2 separate regions of the Homo sapiens genome follow, and region 1 is linked to region 2. Evidence: promoter capture Hi-C in human tissues and cell types (Jung and others, 2019). All regions are on one chromosome and are shown on one strand. The core of a region is centred on a gene start or on the middle of the fragment in contact, and the rest is flanking DNA. Distances in the headings are between cores, read along the strand shown. Region 1 has its middle 23 kb from the start of LINC01696. Region 2 holds the start of PLXNA2 (plexin A2).

Region 1 (6,303 bases), core at 3,619-6,118, 1.1 Mb after region 2:
TTCCCTTTCTTTCTCACTGAGGTATTGTCCCAGACCAAGCTTGTACTCCTCGATCTTCTTTCTCTAGGACATAATCTCTCCCAACATATCCTCAGTATCTCATACAAGTGGATACCAGGGAGACATTGAGGGTGTCTCCCCAGGTGCCCAGTTTTAGGATAAAACAGCATAGGTTCAAAGTGAGACTGACCCCAGCCCTTGAATATATCCACAGCTACCCATCCCAGGGTTCAGGATACTTTGGGGTATTTCTTCCATTTCCCATTTGATCACATCTATCAAGTTAGATTTAACATTTGGGGAGATGTATGTAACCCAGTAAATGGCCCACTCTTCAACTAGATTCGCGTTCAAAGAAACCCAATCTCTTTAAGTTTTTTGAGAATTTTAATGTTTATCAGAGTCTCTTTCAATAAAAGTGTCAAAGGAACCCAATGCACAGCCCCCAGTAAAAATTTAAAATTCTCTTTCTCCATTCCTCTGATTCTAACTCTCTCCCACATGCCCTAGCTGATCTGAATCCTTTCCTCAAGAAGACATTCTGGTTGTCTAGGTGAGCTCTTGACTTTTCTCCTTCTTCTTCTATTCTTCTGTCTCTATTCTTTCATTCCTCCCATGAGTAAATCTGTCCTTTTATATGCAACCCCTCCGTCCTTGCTTCTCCTTTCGGTCTCTCACCACTCACTGCCAGAATTCTGCACCACAGAAGTCCAAGAGTTGGGCCTCAGAGGGATTCAGTAATATATCTCACAAGGTAGAAACCTTCCTAGAGAATGAGAGGTGGGAGAAGCTGAGCATGCCAAGACTGTGTTCTCTTAAGTGTTTGGGGTCTAGGGGGAAAGGGGAACTGTGACTCTCCCATCAACATTAGGTTGGTGCAAAAGTAATTACTTTTAATGGCAAAACCCACAACTACTTTTGCACCAACCTAATACTTTTTGTCTCTAATGCATAAAGATCAAGGCCGAGTTTAAAAAGGACTTTTAATCTTATGCCTCTCTCTATGGATTCTAAACCAGTTGAGAAATAGGCCCTGGAAGTATAAGGAAGTCCAAATATAAATTTATTTGTTGGTGAAACAAGATTGGAGAATCTTAGACTTGTGGTCAAAATAAAGCTCCTTACAGCTTTCTTTCATGCTCAATCCACAGGGCTCAGTTGGGGGGAGTGGGGGTTGAAGAGCTGACTGCCTCATGTCTTCCTGAGCTAAAGATCTCAAGGCCCAAGAGACAGAAGGACAACTAGACCCTCTTGCAGAAGGGCAGGGACAGAGGGCTGAGAAGGCCTGCAAGAGGTCAAACCATCCTTGTGCCCCTGCCTGTCATCCAGTCTCCCAGTCAGATAAATCGTCCTACTGCCATGGTCCAAGGCAAAGAGAAGAATGCGAAATCCCTTCCCAATACTTAAAAAGCTGTTTAAAAACCTCAATATTTGCTAAGTAAGATTATAAACATGGAAATAGGGAGAAAATACTCTGTAATTAATAAGCCATAGTTTTTGCCCACAAAAGCTCATTCTAGACATTGATCTTTCAAAAGATTACATTGCCTTTCTTCATTGAAAGAAACAGGCTAGGAAAGAATCAGAAAATAAAGGTTCTAATTCAGACTCTGCCACCATAGTTGGAGTTTCGTGTTGAGATTTGTTCCCCAAATTATCTCCCAGGCTCAGCAGCCCTGTCATCTCTACACCCAACCCCAAGGGCCAATCTGGGCCCAGTGCCCCGAGTTGTCACTTGTAAGGGAAAGAGAACACATCTTTCGTAAAAGTTTTATTCACTTAAAAAATTAGCCATGATCTGAAGGTCTACAGCAGTACAGTGGCTGAACAGCCTAGAGGGGCTATGAATTGTCCATAGAGCACTATCTACCTTTGTTCAAATCTTGACCCCATCACTCAACAGTCAAGTGACCTCTGGCAATTACTTAACCTCTCAATTTATTTCTCTGTAATATGGGGAATATTAACAGTACAAGCCTTACAACGTGGTTTTGGGAATCAAATGAGTTAATGTATGTCAAACACTTAGAACAATATCTGGCACATAGGAAGTGACATGAAATGTTTACCAGCATTATTATAGTTTAGTAAATTCAAGCACAGAAATAAATAGAAAATTGTAATGTCATCACCATCATTTTATGAACATTTCTAGCAACATGAAGATGCTTATGCTTCATAATTAAAAGTCAGAATTAAAATGTTAATGTGTCATTTTGAAACATGTTTAAAAAGTATAGAAAACATCTAAAATTGTAACAAAATGCTAATTGGTTATCTTGGATGGTCAGATGATGAAAAGCTTTAATTTTTCTTTATGTTTTCGTGCATGAATTTTCTATAATAGCATGTATTCACTGTAAAGAAGACAAAATGTTTATTTTAATATTTTAAATAATTTTGGTGTCCTGAGTGGATTTACCAGGCAAAACCATCTTCAACAAAATACCACTCTTCCAATCTGGGTATGTCACACATTATACAGACAATAAATCCTACTTTTGATGGAAGAAAAACATTCCTTTGCCAGCAATAAATTACTTTATTTCTATCCCCACCCTCTTACCCCACCCCACAAAAGTTATAAGTGCTGCTCTCTATGGTAGGTGTTTCTCCTGGGGCTGCATTCCATAGCTCTATGGTAGGTATCAAATTCTGCTATTCCTTTGAGGGTTTATCCATCCCAAAGACAGTTGCTGCTCGAAGCACGAAGCTTTGTGAACCCCACCTGCCCCCACCACCCAATACCACCGAGTCATATTTACCAAAGTATTAAGTATTTGATGACAGAGTGTGCTAAAGGCCAAAAATGACAGCTAAGTTCACACTTCTATTGCAGCTCCATTTTCCCCTGAAGGTAAAAACTATTTGGAATAATAACAAAACCTGAATAATTCTTGCCACAAGTTCAAGCCTCAGCCTCCAGATTTTTAACTCTCTGAGTTAAAAATTCCCGAGATAGGAGTTCCCACCTTGACCCTCATCTTTGAATTTTATTTCTAGTTTTGGGGAGCTGGAATTCTTCCCAGTGTTTATGTGATTAGCTTCTGTAAGCCAGAAGAGCTATCTGCTAAGGGGATCGCAGGACTCATTCTACTTGTTTCGGCATCCAACCCAAAGAAAAAGCAACTACCTGGACAAATGTTGTCATCCAAAGTTTAAATCAAGCTTGTCCAACTCATCTTATTTTGTTGTTGTTCTGTTTTGTTTTGTTTTGTTTTGTTTTGTTTTAGGCTCTTAGCAGCCTGAAGCCATGGCTTTTAGTTTCTGCCTCTAGTGATAAGTGGAAAAGAGGGATGAGGAAGGGGCTTTACTGGCCCAATCAGAAACAGAAACTAAGAATCCATTACTGTATTCTCTCCCTTGGATACCCCAAATCCATCATGAACTCACTCCCACCCTGGTTCAGAGCCCAGCATCAGAGAAGATTGACTGAGGTCCAGGCCACTCACACACAAGTTCTGCCTTGTCTTGCCTTTCTTGTTCCTTTTTATTCCATTGAGCTCATCAAAGCCCACAGAATAGTATAACTGGCAGAGTTTAGCCCTGCTCACCTTGCTCTACCCATCACACAACTAGATAGAAATAATAGTAGTCGTGACATAAACAAACACAAGAAGCATTCACTATGGCCAAGCACTATTCTAAGGTTTTAAAGATAGCAACTCATTTAATCTGCACCACAACCCCGTAAAGTAGATACCATTATTATCATCCCCATTTTATGGTTGAGGAATTGAGGTTCAGAGAGCTTACATAGCTTTCCCAAGTTCATGCGAAGCCAGGACTCATGCCGGCTCACATGAGGCAGGGACCCTTGGTCTGTTTAGTCACCATTCAGTGGTTTTTGACTTCTCCCCCTCAGAATATAAAGCTATTGCCTAGAATTCAAAAGCTAATAGCAGCAGCCAACACGCTTAGAACCTTCCTCCTAAGTCTGCTGGGCCAGACAGAAACTAAACAAAATACTGTAATCACAGAGGTGAAAAAAAAGAGTCCCTTTGACTTTATCTCAAAAACGTTTTCTGACCACCTGCCCTGTATGGCAGGTGTTGCAGGAAAGTCAGGGATGGATAAAAACAGGGCACTGTTTTCATGCAACTTAGAACAGAATAGGGGAAAATGGAAGAATGAAATATGTGTTGAGTATTAATACAAGTTGCAGGAAAGGCTTTTTATCTTTTTAAGGAGTAGGCACAGTACAATCATCAAACTGCAGTGAAGCAGAGACTCCTGGGCCTCCCACAGACATCCCTTTCACTCACCCCTGCCCTCAACATCAGACCCTCAGCTGAGGCTGTAATTATCAAGGGAAGGGGAAAGGAATGCATACTGGTTGATGATCTCATCGGTGCTTACAAGGATGCTAGCAGGAAGCCAGTATGAACCCCAGTTTACAGATATAGTTTCTGAGGCTCAGAGAGGTTCAATAATTTGCCTTAAAAACATAAAACTAGTATGCTGCAAATACAGGAATTGAAACCTGGTCTGGCCCCAGAGTGGATGCACCTCCTACTGCACCACACTCCCTCCCTCCACTAAATTGATTGCTGAGACTCATCTCCCAACAAAGCCTTTATCCATGGGTCCCGTTTGGTGAGTGATTGATGAGCATTTCTGAGCGATGCCAGCCCCTCCTCTAGGCCTGGCCTGGCTGCTTTGCCATTCCAGAACAAACCCACGTTTGATCTACGAGGCTACTTTCTTGCCATGAAAGGATGTGTCTCCCAAGTGACCTCTTCCTTGGTAGTTGGAGAGAAAGTGTGATAAAAAGCAAAAGCCGTGTCCTTTGAAGATAATTCATACATTGGCCAGTAGATAAGATAAAGTAGCTGGAAATCCAGCACAAGCTACAAACAACTCCACATTAAAGGCATCTGTGTTTAATAAAACTGATAAATCAAATGCTGTTAGGTGGCGTCTCCTGGCTATGTTTTAGGCCCATAATTGGTGCATGCGGATGATACAAGAATACAAGGCACTGAGCCAGCAGAGAGACTGCTAACCTCTGACGAGCCCCTCAAGTACTTCCAGGATTCTCTCCATGATTTGTTTGGAGAAGTTTGTCCAAATAGAGTCCCTTTCCTAGAAAAGTGCCAGGCTATCAATTTACATACTTAAATGGGGAGTGCGTCCTCTCTCTGGGTATCTTCAAGGACAACAAAAACACCAGAGAGGAAGGTAAAGGAAAGGTAGGAATGGGGAAAAAATGTAAGTACAGCATATTGATTTATTGTGCATTTCATATGTGCACTTTACATGCATTTTCTAATTTTCTCGTCATAATCCTGTAAGAGAGGTGGCATCATCCTCCTGTTGCAGGTGACAAAATATATGCCAGTTAAATGACTTGTCCAGTAGCAGAACTGATTGACTCCAAAGCAGGAGGAGAAAAAGCTAGAGCAGCTTGAAGTAGTCACTGTTGAGAAGATAGGACTAGGAAAACAGCTCCTCTAAACTTTAGGCTGGTCTAAGATTATTATTTAAAGATTGGAAACCTATTCGCATTAGGTAAGAGAACAAAAGTTATGGGTTTAGGTACAGAAGGAGAAATTGATATTAGGTATCTCTGAGGGCCAGGGGACCTAATAGGAAGTGGTGGAAATTTTTTGCCTGGAAAGAGCCTACATCCACCAGATAGTCTGGTGCAGTCATGTTGTAGAAAGGACATTAGATAAGGTCCATGCCCAGGCACTGGCTCTTACAAGCAGCCTGACTTTCAGCATGCTGCAACCTCTCTGACCTTCAATTTGCTTTGTAAAATGGAGACAGTAATAACTAATTTGAAGTATTTGTGGAAAGCAATAAATGAAATGATGTATGTAAAATGCTTGGTAAACACTAAAGTGCTATCAAGCATGGGGACTGTTATTATTCCACCTTTCTGGAATTTTTATACAAAATACAGCACAGAAACAGAGGAATGGACTAAATGACTTACTGTGGCTCCTTTTTTGACAACAGAAGTAGATTTTTGACAAGAAGTAGAGCTTGGGAGTGAAGTCAAGCTCTCTTTAGGGATGATCAGCTTTATAGTTTTCAGAAAAACCTCAGCCCAAAATAAAGATTCCTTATGACTCCCCCTCCCCAGCAAAAGGTTTCAGTGGCATAGTCAGCCCCATCTCTACCAGAGTTAAAGTGCCGTGGATCAGGTCAAGGTCAGCTGCCTCCTGCCAGGAAGAAAGACAATTAGGATGAGGAGTGAGTGTTATACCAAAGGGGGTTCATGATTTGGGGCTAAAAGAAATTGACCTTTTGCTTCAGAGGCTATTTAACTCCAAGAGATTCCAAGCTTTGCTTCCC
Region 2 (6,090 bases), core at 1,887-4,386:
GACTTCAGTAAAACAGATGGTGAAGGAACTTTTACATTCACCGCATCTGCAGCTTTTGATGGTCAAGAGAGTTGCAGGGTGAATGTTCCCTGGTGCTCTGAAGACAGGGATAGGTATTCAGACTAGCTCTGAAAGGGGGGCCACCAACCTTGTAATGACATGGTTTTGGGCGATGGACATAAGACACTGCCATACTCTTCATTTAGACTTGGGCTGAAAAGCTAGCCAGCCCCCCTGTCCTGCTCCAGGCTTTGAGGGACCCCTGTCCTTATGCCCTGCCAAAAAGAAGGACCAGCTGGGATTTCCTTGGCAGACTCATGGTCCCTGGATAGAGATCTCCTGGTACTTTACCACTGCTGCTCCTCAGCATCTTCCCTGCACATCGCTCCAAATGTCATTTCCATTTAACTGCTTTGCAAGCCAGTTTGCCCCCATCCTAATGCAATTTGCTGAGGACAGTGAGGGAGCAGAGAGGGTAATCTGCATTGCCCTCCCTTTATCAGCAGGTCCCTGAAGACGATCGGCTGCGGAGTGGAGGGAAATAGCTCCTTTAGGTAATGCTGGTTGGTGGCAGCAGGGGCAAGTTCTGGAATGAGGAGGGGTTGGTGGTGATGCCAGGTGGAAGAAGGGGAATGAAAAACAACCTCGCTATGACAGATTCCACTGTTTCCTTGGTTCCCTACCCTTTCTCTTCACTGCCCCTTCAGCCTCCAGGCCACCACCAAGGAGAGATCCCAGGTAATTAGTTCAAATGGTGCTCCGTGAAGAGAGAGGGAAGTTAATGAATTCTTCTCTTTTCTTGCCTGGAGGTCAGAGGGGAGAGGGCTGCAAGCAACTCTGGGAGCTTTCTGGGGTTATTGCATAAAAGTTGTGCATTTCAGTTAGGAATAGCTGAATTCCTCCAGCCAAGGTTATCTCTTCCTGGGGCTCTGTCAATCAGTAGAAGGCCCCAGAATCCAAAGCCAACCCAGAGGGAAGAGTGAAGTTTCAAGATCTGGGAAAGAAGCCCAGCAAAGGAGGGAGACTGCTATTGTGTGGGGAGAGGGGAGAGCTAAACCTGACTCCTGCTCTCAAAGCCTCCAGCCCAGGCCAGCCAAGATACTCATCTTGGCCTGCCGCTCATAAGCCTTGTCCACTGTGCGCGTGAATGGAAGGAAATGAATGTGCCCCCAAATTTCTGTGGGTTCTTCCAAACTGATGGGCCCCCAAGTGACTGCCTCAAGCTATGACTGGCAGTCCCAGTCCCCTCAAACTGATGCTGCCTTCATGTCCCTTGTGCACTTTCTACTGGTGTGCCACTGTCACTCTAAGATTCCTACAGGGGACCTGTTCAGATTTCCATTGCCCACTTCATGGGGCTCTCATTTCTAGACCCTTACTGACCTAGAGCCCCAAATCTTTTATCCAACTTCCTCCCCACCATTATTTCTATCCCTCCTGAGCAGAGCTGAGTTTGAGTAGGTAGCTCCCACTAGGGCAAGGGTCATTCCAAACAGGTGGACTTTTTTCGGGGATCTAAAATGGTAGTTTCTGGTGACTCTCTGGGCATCTAGACCATGATTGGCATTATAGAGACTACCTGTGGGATGGATAAAAAGGGCTAGAATTTTCTAGGATCCCTACCTCACTTGTGGGGTGGGGCAAGAAAGAGCACATGGAAGGAAACATTCTCAAATGGTTCATAAGGAGCCTCTGGGACCCTAAGCAAACTCCCATTTCAACCCCCAGCACTCCTGTGGTGCTCAAACTAAGGGGCTGGACCCCTGCTGGGCGATACACCGCAAAGGGAGCCCCGGGAGATGAAACACTTAGACCCATTCAGTGCCTAGGAATCTCTCCCTGAGCCTTATGGAACCCGCGCAAATGATGTTTTCCCATTCCCCTGATCTCCAGTCCCCGATCGGAAGGGAGAGCCGGCGGCCACCAGGGACCCCGGCACTGGAGTGAACGCCCCCAAATCGATCGCTGGCCAGTGTGGCTTTGGGCTGTCTCGCTGGTGCCACCGAGGCCCTCTTTGGGCTCCAGCTCTCAGGACAGCCTTGCCGCCCCGAGCTCCCCAAAGCCGCAGAGCGCCGGCAGGTGCGCGGTGGAGGCGCGCCGCGGAGCGCTGCTGCCGCCCTCAGCCCGCATTCGGGAAGCCGGCGGGCTGCCGGCCGGGAAGCCCTCGGCGGGAGGCAGCGGCTCCAGTGAGCCTGCGATCGCGCGCACGCCGCGCTCCAGCCCGCGAAAGTGGCCGAGCCCACGCGGGGACTCGCCCGCCGCGGCCAAGCCGGGTCTTCTGGGGCCGGGACCCCAAAGAGGCGGGCGCGGGAGAAGCCGCCACGGGTGTGCGCGCCTGTGGGGAGAGGGCGGAGGGCGCTGCCGACTCCGAGCGCCCGGCCCAGCCGCCGCTTACCCAGCTCGGCGACGTCGGTCTGTCCTTCCGTCCCCGCTCGGTCTACCTCGGCCGCCGCCGGCTGCTGAGGGCGGCGCGAGGCCCCTCTCCCTGCCCGCAGCTCGGAATCAGGGAGACGACCAAATCCACATGGAGTCCAAATTCATTAAAATCCACGTCAAGCCACCAGACACTTATCTGTATTCCTGAAGTCGCTCCTCGGTCTCCGCTCCGCGCGCCCCTCAGTCCTCCGTCGCCCCGCAGCAGCCCGGCTGGGCGCTGTCGCCGGCTCTCAGGGGGCACCCGGAGGCGCCGAGGGGGCGTGTGGGGGCGGCCGGCGGTGTCTCTCCTGAGGAAGAAGCAGAGCCCCGGCTGTCTTCAGATTTTTCCAGCGCGACTTTCCGGGCTCCTCTGACATCAGCAATCCCGGCGCTTCCTTCCCTTCTTGCTCTCCGGTTCGTTCACAGTCCCATTTCCTCCGGGAGCCTGGCTTTCCAGATCTATTTCGAGGTTTGCTCCGCTGGCTGCGGCGCTCGCACGCCCTACCGCTCCCAAGCTCTCGGGGTCTCTCTCCGGATCGCTCGCCCTCTCGGCTGAAAAATTCCCAGCAACTGCCCTCCGCCGCCCTCCCGCTCCAGTCTGGCGCGGATGCCGCTCCTCCCGGCAGCTCTGGCTCCCGCGGTGGCGGCGGCGGCGGCGGCGGCGGCGGCGGCGGAGGAGCCCTGAGCGCCGGCCTCCCTATTTCACCATGCAGCTCATTATCATAGAGGCCGCGCGCGTTAACCCCCTCCCCGCCGGCCGCGTCCGCCCGGGCTGGGGCCGCGCCCGCTGCTGGCACCGCCCGCCACCGCCAGCACCCTGCCCCCTCCCCCGCCCGCGCGGACTTCCTCCTCCGCAAGCTGTCAACAAAGGAGAAGCAGGTTTGGCATCCGGAGGCCGCTCGGCTGCCTGTCCTGCGCCCAGCTCAGCCCGGACCCATCGGCCACCTTAAGTAGCCAAGGGGGCAAGGAAAATGCTGCCAGGGCCCGGGAATTCGAGTCGGGCCTTGCGAGCCCAGCTGGCTTGGCCCCCGGGGGAATAGAAGGTCTAGCGTTGGGGTTAGGGGGGAGCTCAGAACACAGGAAGAGTGGGTGAGGGCAGTAGGGACAGGGAATCCCCCCCATTCGCATCACCTGTCACCGCACACATCCTGCACACCTCCCTCTTCATCTGTAATTTGAGTGAGGGGTGAGTGGGGAGGAACGGGGCTTGTCTGGTAGGGTTGAGACTAGAGTCTTGGAATTTGTGGGAGCAAATTTCCTCTTCTTGTAAATTAAAAAAAGAAAAAGGCCAACAAGCTGTCAAATAAGGCTTGAAGTTGTTGTTATTATTATTATTGCAATGAGAAGATGAACCTTGCTCTGAATTGAATCTCAAACTTCCAGCCCTGATAGGGATCCTGGGCATCTGGTAAGTCCCGACTTGCATGGGGGCATTGGGGACGGGAGAAGAGCTTTCTATATCCAATTCAGAGAATCTTTCTGGCAGGGTAATCAGAGGGGTGGCAATAAGATAACTTATTTTAATAACCTAAGGTGAGAGGTTTCGGGATTCTGGATGACAATGTCTCGGTGCCCTCAAGGCCACTGATTCCTCGCCACACAGTCTCAGTAACTCCGCAGCCTCTAGACACGGCTTTCCGGAAGCGGCCTGCAAGCTGGACCCCAGCGAGTTCGCAGGATCTGCGTAGTCCCTGCTCGCGATTAGAGCGCACACGAGTTTACTCCTGTCCAAGTATTCTGATAAGCTTCCTCTACTGCCCTCTCGTGGCCACAGTCCTCAGTGGTATAAATCTAAAAAACAACAAAAATCACTGCGAATACCTAAAAGCAATTGCACCAAATTCTTAGAGCAGTAGCGGCAGAAGAAACGAAGGGAGGGAAGGATGAAGAAAGGGAGCCGGAGAAAAGAGAGAGAGAGAGGAAGAAGAAAAGGAAATCTAGACTAACCAGTCATCTCGAACAATCGCACATTCAACACAGGACTGGGGGATCTAGGCTTTACTCCAACATCTGCAGAAATCAGCGAATTCTTCAAAAGTTCTTCATTGTAATTAGCTGAAATTTGTGTTCCTGTAACTTTCACTGGCTACTGCTAGTTTTGTCCTGTGGGACCACAAAGAATCTGTCTAAGCTGTGTTGCCTGATCCATACCTGTTCTTTCCTTCAAACTTCTTTAGCATTCATTGTTGGTAACACACCAATAAATTATCATATTTACCCTGTGTTATTATTTATTTATTTTTATAAGTAGATCTTGTCTCCCCATGCAGACAGACTAGTCGATCGTTTTATCTCTGGGTAGACTGAATCTAAACCACAATTTATTAAAAAAGATGATTTGAAGAAGATGCTAGAAGATTTTGGAACACTTCCTCCATTTGTTCATGGAGTTTGGCCAGCTACACCTAAGACCAGCCGTGGTAGGATTGGAGATATCTAATTGATAAAGCTCCAAGCTGAAAATTAGGGCCCTCTGGTTCTAAATCAAGTGGTGTCTGACTCTGGAAGAGGTCACCTCTCTTCCCTATGCCTCAATTTAATCACACCTTGGGAAGATTATGATACAATTGAAATAATTTTCTCATATGCCACCCTCCACTCCTGTGGTCCAGAAATAAATCTTAGAATGAAGAGCAAGGAAGCATAAAATGAAACAGACTCTTCCACTCACCCCATCTTTTATCCCCACACCTCCCCTCTCTTTCCTGAATAAAGGGAGAGAAAGAGGGAACACAGGCGGGAGGACACATTGTGGCTGACAGGGTGGCACGACGCCATCCAGATTCCACATTGCCACTGAACAGGGTCTAAGATCTGAGTCCTGTGAGACTATGGAAGAGCCTGTGGTCAGCATAGCAATGGAAAGAGCGCTAACTTGATCTACTGGGAGGTACAGTGGATGAAGTACCTCTAACTTCTCTAGGCCACAGTTTGTCCATCTGTAAGATGGGAATTTCTGTCTTCACTCTCCAGACAACTGGGGGAATTAAAATAGATATATGTAAGCGTGTTGGAAGAAGTAATAGTATCATCAAAATGGAAAGATTGTTGTTATATTTAGTCCTAATAGGCTAGAACAAATATGGATCTTATTAGCTAAACATCTAATTACCATAACATGCTCTGAGAATTTAAAAAAAAACCAAAACCTTGGGTTCATGGTTCGTATTTAGATTTGACATCCTCTGAGGCAACAGCGGTATACCTGAACCTCTAGTCTTTACATCTGCTCGTTAACCTTCTCCCTTTGATCTGGGTATTCATTCATTTATTACGCAAATATTTATGAAGAGCAAATTTACTAAATTTCTTCCTTTAATGGAACTATATACAGTCCATAATTACTGCTTTGGCACATATTTTTAAAGAAAGCATGGCAATAACCCTACAGATTCTATAACCTCAGATCTATCTCTTTCTGAGGTTTCTGGTTTTCTTGTATGTTTCTGCCCTTCACTATATTCTTCCTCATTCTGTCCATCTGATATCAGGCCCACAGCCCCTTGGGACTGACCAGTCCTCTGTCAGGGCCTTGTAGTTCGTCCTCATTTCCATCTGGAAGGATAGATGTAGTGCAACATATTTGTGAGCAGGCTGTCGATATTTAACAAATATTTATCAAATGAATGAACAAATGAATGAATGGGGAAATGTTTATCTTATGCCAAATCCTCA

What was found. Contacts are between HindIII fragments. The study calls those that stand out against the background at their distance.
Region 1: a contact is called between a fragment that was not itself captured here and the fragment with the promoter of PLXNA2 in region 2, in 2 of the 25 tissues and cell types used here (bladder and heart left ventricle).

Annotation. Positions count from the first base shown.
Region 1 is chr1:209,345,254-209,351,556 of GRCh38, forward strand. No RefSeq gene overlaps it. Among named protein-coding and RNA genes, the nearest start is that of LINC01696, 23 kb to the left of the region's middle. The HindIII fragment of the contact is 4,722 bases long and covers 2,508-6,303 here.
Region 2 is chr1:208,241,248-208,247,337 of GRCh38, forward strand. It overlaps PLXNA2 (plexin A2), which reads right to left and starts at 3,137. Exons shown (of 32, transcript NM_025179.4): 1 at 2,396-3,137. RefSeq lists enhancers at 1,675-2,176, 2,177-2,676 and a silencer at 3,195-3,254. The HindIII fragment of the contact is 14,189 bases long and covers 1-6,090 here.